3 separate regions of the Homo sapiens genome follow, and all the other regions are linked to region 2. Evidence: promoter capture Hi-C in human tissues and cell types (Jung and others, 2019). All regions are on one chromosome and are shown on one strand. The core of a region is centred on a gene start or on the middle of the fragment in contact, and the rest is flanking DNA. Distances in the headings are between cores, read along the strand shown. Region 1 overlaps PZP (PZP alpha-2-macroglobulin like). Region 2 holds the start of A2M (alpha-2-macroglobulin). Region 3 overlaps PZP (PZP alpha-2-macroglobulin like).

Region 1 (4,429 bases), core at 1,734-4,233, 55 kb before region 2:
GATATTCCCCTATCATTTCTGATTGTGTCTACTTGATTCTTTTCTTTTTTTCTTCTTTATTAGTCTAGCTAGCAGTCTATCTATTTTATTAACTTTTTTTCAAAAAAACCAGCTCCTGGATTCATTGTTTTTTTAAGAGGGTTTTTCATGTCTCTATCTCCTTCAGCTCAGCTTTGATCTTTGCTATTTCTTGTCTTCTGCTAGCTTTGGGGTTTGTATGCTCTTGGTTCTACAGTCCTTTTAGTTGAGATGTTAGGTTGTTGATTTGATATCTTTCTAGCTTTTAGATGCAGGCACTTAGTGCTATAAATTTCCCACTTAACACTGTTTTAGCTGCATCCCAGAGATTGCAGTACATTGTCTCTTTGTTCTCATTAGTTTCAAATAACTTCTTGATTTCTGCCTTAATTTCATTGTTTACCCAAGAGTCATTCAGGAGCAGTTTATTCAATTTCCATATAGTTGTGTGGTTTTGAGTGAATTTCTTAATCTTGAGTTCTAAGTTGATTGCACTGTCGTCTGAAAGACTGTTATGATTTCAGTTCTTGTGCATTTGCTGAGGAGTGTTTTACTTCCAATTATGTGTCCAATTTTAGAGTAAATGCCATGTGGCAATGAGAAGAATGTATATTCTGTTGAATTTTGGTGGAGAGTTCTGTAGATATCAATCAGGTCCACTTGATCCAGAGTTGAGTTCAGGTCCTAAATATCTTTGTTAATTTTCTGTCTTAATCATCTGTCTAATATTGTCAGTGGTGTGTTAAAGTCTCTCGCTATTATTGTGTGGGAGTCTAAGTCTCTTTGTAGGTATATAAGAACTTGCTTTATGAATCTGGGTGCTTCTGTATTGGATGCATATATATTTAGGATAGTTAGCTCTTCTGGTTGAATTGAATCCTTTACTATTATATACTACCCTTCTTTGTTTGTTTGATCTTTGTTGGTTTAAAGTCTGTTTTGTCAGAAACTAGGATTGCTTTTTTCTGTTTTCCATTTGCTTGGTAAATTTTCCTCCATCCCTTTATTTTGAGCCTGTGTCTGTCCTTGCGTGTGAGATGAGTCTCTTGAAGATAGCATACTGATGATGGGTCTTGGCTCTTTATTCAGCTTGCCATTCTGTGTCTTTTAACTAGAGCATTTAGCCCATTTACATTTAAGGTTAGTATTTTTATGGGTGAATTAGATCCTGTCATCATGATGCTTTTTTGCAGACTTGTTTATGTGATTGCTTCATAGTGTTCTGGCCTGTGTACTTCAGTGTGTTTTTGTAGTGGCTGGTAATGGTCTTTCTTTTCCAAACGTAGTGCTTTCTTCAGGAGCTCTTGCAAGGCAGGCCTTGTGTTGATAAATTTCCTAACCATTCACTTGTTTGAAAAGAATCTTATTTCTCCTTTGCTTTTGAAGCTTAGTTTGGCCAGGTATAAAATTCTGGGTTGGAAATTATTTTCTTTTAGAATGTTGAATATTGGCCCCCAATTTCTTCTGGCTTCCATGGTTTTGGCAGAGAGGTCCACTGTTAGTATGATATGTTTCCTTTTGTAGGTGACTTGGCCTTTCTCTCTAGGTGTCCTTAACATGGTTTCTTTCATTTTGGCATTGGAGAATCTGATGATTTTGTGTCTTTGGGTTGATGTTCTTGTGGAGTATCTTACTGGCCTTCTCTGCATTTCCTGAATTTGAATGTTGGCCTGTCTTGCTAGGTTGGGGAAGTTCTCCTGGATGATATCCTGAAGTATGTTTTCCAACTTGGTTCCATTCTCCCTGTCTCTTTCAAGGATCCCAATCAGTCATAGGTTTGGTCTTTTTACATAATCCCATATTTCTCAGAGGTTTTGTTCATTTCTTTTCATTCTTTCTTCTCTATTCTAGTCTGCCTGTCTTATTTCAGATAGATAATCTTCAGGCTCTGAGATTCTTTCCTCCTCTTGGTCTATCCTGCTACTGATACTTGTGATTGCATTGTGAAGTTCTTGAGATGCGGTTTTCAGCTCCATCAGGTCAGTTATGTTCCTCTCTAAACTGGCTATTCTGGCTACCAGCTCCTGTATTGTTTTATCATGATTCTCAGCTTCTTTTCATTGGGTTACAGCTCAGCAAAGTTTATTGTTATCCACTTTCTGAAGTCTACTTCTGTCAATTCTTAGCCTCAGCCCGGTTCTGTGCCCTTGCTGGTGAGGTGTCACAGTCATCTGGAAGAGAAGAGACACTCTGGCATTTTGAGTTTTCGTTGTTTTTGAATTAATTCTTTCTCATCTTTGTGAACTTATCTACCTTTAATCCTTGAGGCTGCTGCCCTTTGAATTAGATTTGTGTTAGGTCTTTTTTGTTGATGCTGTTGTTTTCTGTTTGTTTGTTTGTTTTTCTTTTAGCAGTCAAGCCACTCTATCATAGGGCTGCTGAGGTTTGCTGGGGGTCCACTCCAGACCCCAGTTGCTTTGGTTTCTCCCGTACGTGGAAGTATCACCAGCAAAGGCCATGAAACAGCAAAGATGGCAGCCTGTGCCTTCCTCTAGAAACTCCATCCTGTGGGGGTACTAACTTGTTGCCAGCCCACATGCAACTGTTGGAGGTGGCTGGAGACCCTCATTGGGAGGTCTCGCCCAGTCAGGAGGAATGGGATCAGGGACCTTCTCAAAGAAGCAGCCTGGCTGCTTTTTGGTAGAGCAGGTGGGCTGCATTGGGTGGGATCCTTCCTCACCTGGATCACCTGTATTCTCCAAAGCCAGCAGGTTGGAGTGGCAGAGTCAACCAAACTGCAGAGATGGCAGACACCCCTGCCCCCCAGGAGCTCGGTCCCAGGGAGAGATCAAAGCTCTGTCTTTAGAACCCTGGCTGGAGTACCTGAAGCCCCCACAGAAAGGTCCCACTCGATGAGGAGGAATGGATCAGGGTCCCACTTAAAGAAGCAGTCTGATCACAATCTGGCAAGGCAGCTGTGCTGCATCGTGGGGGACCGTTCCTCATCCAGACCATCTGTATTCCCCAAGCCTTCAGGCTGGAGTGGCTGAGTCCTCAGAACCACAGAGATGGCACCCACCTCTCCCTGCAGGAACTCAGGTCCATCTCAGGTGGACTCCAACCCACTGCCGTCGGCTGGCTGAGATTCCAAGACAGTGAGTCTTAACCTGTGAGGTGCTGTGGAAGTGGGGTCCACAGGATGATGCTCTTTGGCTCTCTGAATTTAGCCCCCTTCCTAGGGATATATACAAACAGATTTCCTGCCTTTCCAGGGATCCCAGGGCCGGATTATGTAAAACTCCAGGGTTTCTGTGTGCCTGAGCAGCTGCTCTGCCAAGACTCCACATAGCTTTGTGTATCAGACCCAAGACCCTGGTGGCATGGGCTCACAAGGGTATCTCCTGATCCATGGGTTGCAGAGATCCTTGGGAGAAATGTGATTTCCCAGGCGAGGTCGCACAATCACTCACCGCTTCCCTTGGCTGGGGGTGGGGGTTCCTTCCGTTGCCCTCCCCCACCTCCGCCCCTGCTGCTTTTCATTGTTCTCTGTGGCTCAAGTTGCTTGCCTAGTCAGTCTCAATGTGAGAACCTGGGTATTTCAGTTGAAGGTGCTGCATTTAATAAGCTTTTTCATTCCACTCCGTAAGTGCTGCAGACCGCAGCTGCTTCTAATGGGCCATCTATACGATTTTCTGTCTGAGAATAAGCCTGAGTAGACATAGATGTTTAACAGGTGGCAATAATAATATGTAGCTAAATTCCTCAGGGCATTATGTATTAATTAAACACAGATGCAAGTTACGTCTTCTTTCTATATTTGGTCTATTTTTACCTCTAGACTCTACAATGAAGTTTTAATTAATCCTTCATAACTTAAGATTTTGTTAATCTTTGGAAGCATTTTCCCAAGTAGGTTTCATTTCTTTATAACAAAACAACACTGTTAAATATAAGGAAAATCTTCAACTATCTCTAAGGTACCAACTACATGAACGTACTCAAGAAAAGATTGGTGATAATTATTTTATTTCTCTCAGTTCATTCTATTTCAAAAGAAAAGTAAGTAACAGTTCTGCCTTTGATCCCCCCACTGCTACAGGTATATAATCTGCTAACTGTGAAGGATCTCACCAATTTTCCTGACAATGTGGACCAGCAGGAGGAAGAACAAGGACACTGTCCCCGTCCTTTCTTCATTCATAATGGAGCCATCTATGTTCCCTTATCAAGTAATGAAGCAGATATTTATAGCTTCCTCAAGGTAAAATTCTCACTACTTATTAACATGCTGGCTTGTGAGTTTTTGAATGTTAATAAAACTCTGTATCTATTCATAATCTTAGTAATTATGTAGCCTTGCCTCTCCATTTTTCAGCAGACAAAAATGAAGCCAATAAAAAGGTTAAAGTCTCTTGTGAGGATCACACAAAAGCTCAGTATGTGAGTCAGGGCTAGATCTAACCTCTGCCTA
Region 2 (4,349 bases), core at 873-3,372:
TACAACCCACTTAGATGCTAACACCATAATCTGAAAAATATTACCTATATTATGTCTAATATTGGCCACTTGAAGTATGGCTAGCCTAAATTGATCTATGTTGTAAGTATAAAATTCACACCAGCTTGTGAAAACAAATTATGAAAAAAAAGTCTTTAAGATATCATTAACAATTTTATATTGGCTAAATGTTGAAATGATCATATTTTGGATATATTGGATTAAATAAAATACACTATTAAAATTAATTTAATGTTTCTCTTTATGTGGTTACTAGAAAATTTAAAATTTAAAATTACACAGGGCGATCACATTCTATTTCTAGTAGACCACACTGCTGTAAGCTCAAGATTCAAATGTCAAACTCCTGTGAATATTAATACGTGAATATCCCACAAGCACTTACTCCATCTTCCCAACCCTCAGCCCTTCTGTCCTCCTTCTGCTCCCACCAATCTGTGTTTCTTCTGTTTCACTCACCCAGCTAAAGGCAACACAATTCACTCCGTGACGAGCCAGGAAAATGGAAAGACACATTTTCCTTTATTCCTCACATTGATATATTCACTGAGCACTATAATTACCTCTTAAATATGATATAAATCTGCAAGCTCTTTTCAATACCACCACAAATTCCATAGTTCAAAATGCCATCAGCTTTCACCTATATTATTACACCAGCTCCCATCTGGTCTTCCTGCATCCTGGATCACCTCTTTCTAGCTGCCCTTTCAAATTTCAATAAGAGCAAGCTTTCCAGGAAACAAACCTGAAGTCAATCCACTGAGTACTCCTCTGAATACCTTAATATTGTTGACAAATTCCTTTCTGATTTGAAGTATCAGAAAGGAATATTTCCTCCATACCAAATAGTTTTCATTTCATGCATGTGCCGTGATTCTTCTCCCTCCTTTGCATCTGTCATTCGTTATGCTTAGAAAGCTCTTTTCATCTCTTTGTTCTTCGAGACAACCACTACTCATACTTCAGAGCTTAATTTACATTTTGCTTTCCCTCAAAATTTTTTTAAAAGGTTCCAGGTCTGGGTTATGTGCTCTCTTATGTGCTCCCAGAGCATCCTGAACTTCTGCAATAATATGTTTGGCTACTGTATTTTATACAGTAGTTTTATATTGTATTTTATACTGTATTTTATACAGTAGGTGTTATATTGTATTTTATACAGTAGTTGTTTTTCTGTCTGTTTTTGCCCCAACAAGAATGTAAAATCTTTAAGTGCCTGTTTTCATACTTATTTGACCACCCTATCTCTAGAATCTTGCATGATGTCTAGCCCTAGTAGGATCAAAAAATACTTACAAAGCAACTGAATAGCTACATGAATAGATGGATGAATAAATGCATGGGTGGATGGATGGATTAATGAAATCATTTATATGACTTAAAGTTTGCAGAGGAGTATCATATTTGGAAGGCAGTAAGGAAGTCTGTGTAGTCGATGGTAAAGGCAATTGGGAAGTTTGTTAGGCACAATAGGTCAAAATTTGTTTTTGAAGTCCTGTTACTTCACGTTTCTTTGTTTCACTTTCTTAAAACAGGAAACTCTTTTCTATGATCATTCTTCCAGGGCCTGGCTCTTCATCTGCAACCCAGTAATATCCCTAATGTCAAAAAGCTACTGGTTTAATTCGTGCCATTTTCAAAGAGGACTACTGAATTCTGATGTGGCTTCAAACATTTAGGTTAGGCATATCTAATGGAGAACTTGCAGCCACACTGACTTGTAGTGAAATATCTATTTTGAGCCTGCCCAGTGTTGCTTAAATTGTAGTTTTCCTTGCCAGCTATTCATACAAGAGATGTGAGAAGCACCATAAAAGGCGTTGTGAGGAGTTGTGGGGGAGTGAGGGAGAGAAGAGGTTGAAAAGCTTATTAGCTGCTGTACGGTAAAAGTGAGCTCTTACGGGAATGGGAATGTAGTTTTAGCCCTCCAGGGATTCTATTTAGCCCGCCAGGAATTAACCTTGACTATAAATAGGCCATCAATGACCTTTCCAGAGAATGTTCAGAGACCTCAACTTTGTTTAGAGATCTTGTGTGGGTGGAACTTCCTGTTTGCACACAGAGCAGCATAAAGCCCAGTTGCTTTGGGAAGTGTTTGGGACCAGATGGATTGTAGGGAGTAGGGTACAATACAGTCTGTTCTCCTCCAGCTCCTTCTTTCTGCAACATGGGGAAGAACAAACTCCTTCATCCAAGTCTGGTTCTTCTCCTCTTGGTCCTCCTGCCCACAGACGCCTCAGTCTCTGGAAAACCGTGAGTTCCACACAGAGAGCGTGAAGCATGAACCTAGAGTCCTTCATTTATTGCAGATTTTTCTTTATATCATTCCTTTTTCTTTCCTATGATACTGTCATCTTCTTATCTCTAAGATTCCTTCCAGATTTTACAAATCTAGTTTACTCATTACTTGCTTACTTTTAATCATTCTTCCCCAACTCTCTGAAGCTCTAATATGCAAAGCCTTCCTAAGGGGTGTCAGAAATTTTTAGCTTTTTAAAAGAATAAATTTTAGATATTCACATTCATATTGATCTACTTGAGACCATGCTATTTATCTTTTCTTATTTCCTCTTTCTCAAGGGTCCATTTTCTATTTTATAAAAATAAAGACAATTCTCTCCCACAACCAAACATGGAACAATGCCCTGGAGTATAAAAATCTATAGAGTGCCAAATAAAGGAACAATTTGAAATACTGGTGTTGATATTGAAAAAGCAAGGGACTCTAATGTCAGAAGAGAAATCCTTTTGCAGATGAGGTGGTGATGAATTCTTTGTTTCAACACAACTGAAGGAGGAACTGAAGGAAATACCAGCTGATGAGTGATGAGAAGGGATTCTTGATAATAGAGTACTAGGTGATTTTTGGCATGTAATGCAGAAGTTGCAAGAAGTGGTAACAATGATGCAATTGTTTTACCTGCCATTTATTTACTTTTATGTGAGCCATTCTTCTTAGCACTTATAGCTACACAAAACAAAAATAGTAACAGAATTAATGTTGTTTAATTCTTGCAATCCATGGATGCATAAATTCACTGGGGGAAAAAACAGCTCATCATTCTCATTAAAGATGTGCTTCAAAAGTATTTTAATTTTATATCTAATATGTATGAATCATACTTTGTATTTATTTTGTTTTGATCAGTTATATACAAGTATTTTTGAACATAGCTCAGTCAGAAGGAAATGTTTAATATTTATAAATTTATGGTTACATTCTATTTAAAAGAGGAGTTAAAGTTAAATTTACCTACCCACATATGTTACATATATATGTATTTATGTATATGTATTCATATATGTATATATGTGAACATAAGTATACATACGTATATGTATAGATGCTTGACAATAAAGAAGTAAGAATAATTCACAACATTTTTTGAAATATAAAAATTTAGGATAAATTTCTGTATGGTAATTGGCATGGAAATTCAAATTCAAAAAGGAAAAAAGAAGAGAAAGATATTAAATATCAGACCATTAAAAGAATTTTTTAATGTACTTTTAAATAGTGATAGTAGGTATCTTATACTACAGTGTTTATTATTCATGAGAAAATTGTAAAAGTAATCTAAGTATTAATTTAAAATATCATCAAAAATAATATCTTTTGCTATTACTTAAAATCATGATAAAAATATGTTTACTTGAAAATATGTAAGGAGTGCACAGAGTCCAAAAATTATTTTAGGAGTTCTGTGAGCAAAAATGTATAAAAACTACAGGGTTGATCTTAAATTACATGTCAGGGTACTGAGAAAGTTTCTGTACTGCACATGAGTTACCAAGGTCTAAAGTCAATCACCAGAGGACCATTTTTGGATGGAGCCATTGTCTAATCATGAGCTGAAAGGCAAATATTTAAAATGCAAACATCCATGGTTAGGTAACACTCTTAAGACCTTATTAGCTGCTTACCACAACTGAGACTGTGAAGTAATGGCTCACTTTCTTTGAGGCTCAGATTCCATATCTGTGGAGTGGAAGCGAGTGCTTACCATACAATTTTCACAGGGCTGCTGAATGTGTGTATGTATGTATGTGTGTATATATATTTTAATGAAAATTCTATAATTTGATTAGTTTTTGTAATGTCCGCATGACTGAGAGCTTGCTTACTTTTTACAGCAACTTGAAGGTAAAAATAGATTTTACAACATGAACAAATGTAACTACATATTTTTATTTGAATTCAGATGTTCACAAATTGTTCCTTAAAGTGAAGCATGCCTACAAGTTTTAATCTGTTTAAGACCTACCTCAAGTAAAATGTTCACTGCCATGGCATGTGAGGGAAAAGGGAAATAATTCTTATGCAT
Region 3 (4,656 bases), core at 2,119-4,618, 33 kb before region 2:
TTCTGTATCCCCAAACTAAGACCATACCAATATCAAAACCATGTCAACATCATCCTGCCTCAAAAAAATATTTTTCCCAAACCCAGGAAGTAAATGAACTATTTAGTTGGCCGTAAGCTAAGGGACATATGTGATACCAGAGAAATGCACAAGGAGTACCTATCCTTAGGCCACTCATAGTTTAGTCAGGAATTTAAAGCACATGGGCACAAAACAATAAAACCACCCAAGAAAGATAGGATATGGTTTAAATCCCAAACTGACTGATATGCACTAAAAATTTGGGAAGGAAAAAAAATCAACGTGAACTAAAATTATCAAAGATGCCAGAGGCTCTAATGTGTTACTTGGATATTGAAGAATTGTGGAACTCCTGACCTGAAAACAATTAGCTTTCTTCTCTTCAGAGAATGACCATTTGTCCCTTATTACAATCTGCTCTAGATCTCACACCATTCTCACATCTGTTCTCTAACTTTAACTGAAGTTTTCTAATTCTCTCCAGCTTGAAAGATCTAGCTCTGTGAGCCGGACAGAAGTGAGCAACAACCATGTCCTCATTTATGTGGAACAGGTGAGGGCTCTGACATCCTGGCTGAGACTACATATGGGTCGTCTTTCTAAGTGAGTCTCTTTACTAGAATAGTCGGTAACATGAGGAAAACAATCATTAGTAATGCCCTTCCAGAAAGGTTTATCTATTCCAAGAAGAATAAGAGGGGAAACCTTTGAACTCCATGTAGTGTTCTGTTCTATTTTTAATTGTGTTAAAATTGGAATATGAATATTTCTATGAAATTTAAAGTACAAAATCAATAGAAAAAAGGTGTACCATGTATTCCTGTTGTTTTAAAGGCCCCACTCCCTGACGATATGAATAAATATTAAACTTGAAGTGATAAATCAATAGGACTAAAGGTTATCATGCATTCCTGTTATTTTAAAGACCACCTCCACAAAATGAATAAATATGACCCCAGTGGTTGCCTAATGATAATGTTAACATTCTAAAATGTCACCATAAAATAAAATGAGGATTTTATGAATATTATCAAATATGACCATAAAACAAAGAAAATGTTTTATGTATCCAAACAGAAAGAATACTTCGTTGTTTTAATTACAGATTGTATGAAACCATGTTTCTCCAGCTTAGAACACATTCACATGGGCCCAGAGAGTTAATCTCATAACAAGGGACTACAAAAGAATAGGGTTGGCTCAGTTGTTTAGAAGAAAATCTGTGAAAATTTGTTGACTGTAAATAGAGTTCCCAAGGATGCATTCTAAAACCCATCTTGACATCCACAAATGTCTGGTCACCTAAAGACACTGGTGAAAAAGAGTCAAAGAACAATAAGAATATGTTTTGCTCATGGGAGAAAGAAGGAGGTTTTCTAGGTTCTTGATTACTCCCACTTTTCCTTTCAGGTGACAAATCAGACGCTAAGTTTTTCCTTCATGGTTCTGCAAGACATCCCAGTAGGAGACTTGAAGCCAGCAATTGTTAAAGTCTATGATTACTATGAGACAGGTGAGTGAAAGAAAAATGAAACAATCTTAACCAGAGCCAAGAAATGGATCCTGTTGTGACAGTTGATCCTCTTCTTAGCCCACTTAGTCAACATTAATCTTTTGTTTCTTTCCTCCAAGATGTACACTATAAAAACGACTTACTACAGTCTGGCCAACATAGCAAAACCCCATCTCTACTAAAAATACAAAAAATTAGCTGGGTGTGGTGGTGTGTGCCTGTAATCCCAGCTACTATGGAGGCTGAGGCAGGAGAATCGTGTAAGCCTGGGAGGCAGAGGTTGCAGTGAGCTGAGATCACGCCATTGCACTCCAGCCCAGGTGACGGTGCGAGACTCCGTCTCAAAAAAAAGAAAAAACAACACAAAACAAAACAAAAACTTACTGAACAAATTTATCAATTAGTGTTTCTTGAGTCAGAAACTTAAGAATTAAAAAGAATGATAATATATAGTCACTGCTTTCAAGTAGTTTAGAGACATAGATAACATAATACAGATAAAAATATTACATAACAGGAAAGACTATTAGTGACAAATGAGTGTTAGTGAGCTAAGCAATAAGTTTGAGAGGCAAAAACAGCACAGAAGGCTGGTGCTCAGGAAGAACAAACAGGAAGAAAGATCTGATTTGGATCCTAGAGGATGAGTGGAGTTTTGGGGGTCTATAGAAGTAGGAGGAGTGTTTCAAGCTGGAACAATAATCTTTGAAAAGTAATTAAGGGAGCAAGCTGAACAAAGTGAATAGAAGCAGAGAGGTCATGGAAGAGAGAACTACAGGTTAGTGCAATTATGATCATCTTCCCAAGAATTTAAAATTTGAACAGCTGCCATCTGAACAGGCTTCAGTCCCCATCTCCAGTCTCAGGGAAAGAGAATATAAATATGTTAATGATCCTGTTTAATTCTTGTCTATTTACATGAAGTTTTGACAATTCTGATAGGGCGTGCTTTTCTCCAGTAGTAAAGTGACTAGACAGATTTAGCATGGTCCCTAGTTCATAGATCTTTCGTTTCTTCCTTCACCCAACGTTATCTTTCAGATGAGTCTGTGGTTGCTGAGTATATCGCCCCCTGCAGCACAGGTAAGAGTTCACCACTTATGACCAGTACTAGATGGCATTAACCCACTCTCCAAGGGCCCCTGCAATTTAAATTCTCTACAAGGCTTTTCCTACATCTGAGACAATCCACATGGCATGTCCTCACACCAAGACAAAACTGTGGCGTAGCATGCCTATTCTGTAGCGGACTCTCCAATTTCAGATATTCACTCCCAGAAAAGTCAATAAGCTTTGTTTATTTGTAGGACAGCTATCTCTAAAAGCGACATTTCACTTCACAGCTAATTGGGCTTCCTTCAACACAATGGTCAACTAATCACACACCTAAAACCAAATCTAGCCTTACACTTAATTTTGTAAATGAAGCTTTATTGGCACATGGCCACACTTATTATTAACATTGGCTATGGCTGCCTTTGTGTGCTGATTAGTCATGACAGACCACATGGCATATAAACCTAAAATAATTACCATCTGGCCTTTCACAAAGTTTCCTGACCCTGCATAAGCTCACTCTGCTGCCCACACTCAACTGAATGCTCCTCAGGAAATGATACAACCTCCTTACGTTTTTCTTTTCTCCATAGATACAGAGCATGGAAATGTTTGAGGACCATACAGGCTGTATATTTTGGTGGATTCTCTGTCCTATACATTTACTTAGAAGGAATGGAGTTATTTGTCTCTATAAAATAGACACTAAAAATATTTGCTGAATAAATATGTACTTCTGGTCAAACTATCACTTGTTGCATCATTCATTCATCAGACATTAATAACATGTTCACATGATGAGTTATATTCTTTCTGTTTAATTTTGGTGCAAAGGTTGGATTCTAATAGGTTAGCATTCTAGTAGGAAAGCAGAGTGGAGGTTGCAGGTAAAGAAATTGAATGAAAATTCAGTTGAGAAAGGTGGAAGGTGAGAACATAAGGGGATGATAGATAATATAAACGTGGTAATATAACTGGACTGGAAGGGTCAGAAGATTAGAAGAAGAGACATCAGAAGAGATGTTTGAGATGAGGAGAAGTGCTGTTATAGGAAAAACTAATATCTAGAGAATTGATAATTAAAGTGCATTTTAGGATAAGATTATTATATGGATTAAAAAAATAAAGAGATGAGAGTGAAGGATTTAGATAAACCATCTACAAACATGGATAATAAAATTAATAAGTTTAAAGATAAAAGTAACAGTGGTGAGGATGCAGTGACTCAAGGGTTAAAATCTTCAAAGAATAAAAGGGGAGTAACCTGCATCCTATAGATTATTTTAATAGAAAGAGACATGGTGGCTACAGTTAACCATATTGTATTCTTGAAAAATGCTAAGGAGTAGAGTTTAACCATATGACAACTATATGAAGTAATGTACATGTTAATTAGCTTGACTTAACCATTCTACAATGAATATATATTTCAAAACGTTGTACATGGTAAATATACACAATTTTTTCTGCTTAAAATAATTTCTAAAGTAATTTTTAAACATCATTTAAAAATAAACAAAGGTATAGCAGATGGTAAAATCAAATGGCATGAGAGTAGTTAATGCCTTTTATGGAGAGAAAAAAAATCAAGTATTTGAGAAGAGGCAAGAATGACATTATCCTATCTACAGAAACAGGGATAAATGTAGTGTGGGAGAAAAAAAAAACTGGTCACCTCTTAATGGAGACATAAAACAAGTCAAGGTCTCAATAGGAAGACATGCTTCAAATTCATACATAAAGGCAACATTTGGAGAAGGCTATAAGATATTTTGCTAATAATAGGTTCTGAGTTCCAGAAGACTTAGCTTGAAGGGTTCAAGGAGTCATAGAAGAATGGTGGGTGGATATACCAGAGTGGAGCCATAACACAGTAAGAAACTGGCTGATGAAAGATACATGAGTGGAGAAGTGAAGTCAGCAAGATGACAGAGTAGGAAACCCTGGTCTTCCCCCAGGCTTCCCCCCTGTCCCACACATGAACACCAGTTTAGTAACAATCATGGACAAATTCCCTTTGTGAGAAATTCAAAGGCTAATTGAAAGACTCCTGTATCCTAAACAAA

What was found. The method cuts DNA at HindIII sites, captures the fragments that hold promoters and counts their contacts. A contact is called where the count stands out against the background at its distance.
Region 1: a contact is called between a fragment that was not itself captured here and the fragment with the promoter of A2M in region 2, in 1 of the 25 tissues and cell types used here (hippocampus).
Region 3: a contact is called between a fragment that was not itself captured here and the fragment with the promoter of A2M in region 2, in 2 of the 25 tissues and cell types used here (mesendoderm cells and thymus).

The regions. Positions count from the first base shown.
Region 1 is chr12:9,169,220-9,173,648 of GRCh38, reverse strand. PZP (PZP alpha-2-macroglobulin like) reads left to right here. Exons shown (of 36, transcript NM_002864.3): 16 at 4,058-4,219. It also overlaps a transcript of KLRG1 not described here. Among named protein-coding and RNA genes, the nearest start is that of PZP, 37 kb to the left of the region's middle. RefSeq lists an enhancer at 3,037-3,548. The HindIII fragment of the contact is 4,945 bases long and covers 511-4,429 here.
Region 2 is chr12:9,113,692-9,118,040 of GRCh38, reverse strand. A2M (alpha-2-macroglobulin) reads left to right here and starts at 2,122. Exons shown (of 36, transcript NM_000014.6): 1 at 2,122-2,277. The coding sequence starts at 2,192. It also overlaps a transcript of KLRG1 not described here. The HindIII fragment of the contact is 8,783 bases long and covers 1,322-4,349 here.
Region 3 is chr12:9,147,522-9,152,177 of GRCh38, reverse strand. It overlaps PZP (PZP alpha-2-macroglobulin like), which reads left to right. Exons shown (of 36, transcript NM_002864.3): 33 at 506-574; 34 at 1,432-1,534; 35 at 2,576-2,617; 36 at 3,184-3,338. The coding sequence ends at 3,206. It also overlaps a transcript of KLRG1 not described here. Among named protein-coding and RNA genes, the nearest start is that of A2M, 34 kb to the right of the region's middle. The HindIII fragment of the contact is 4,844 bases long and covers 947-4,656 here.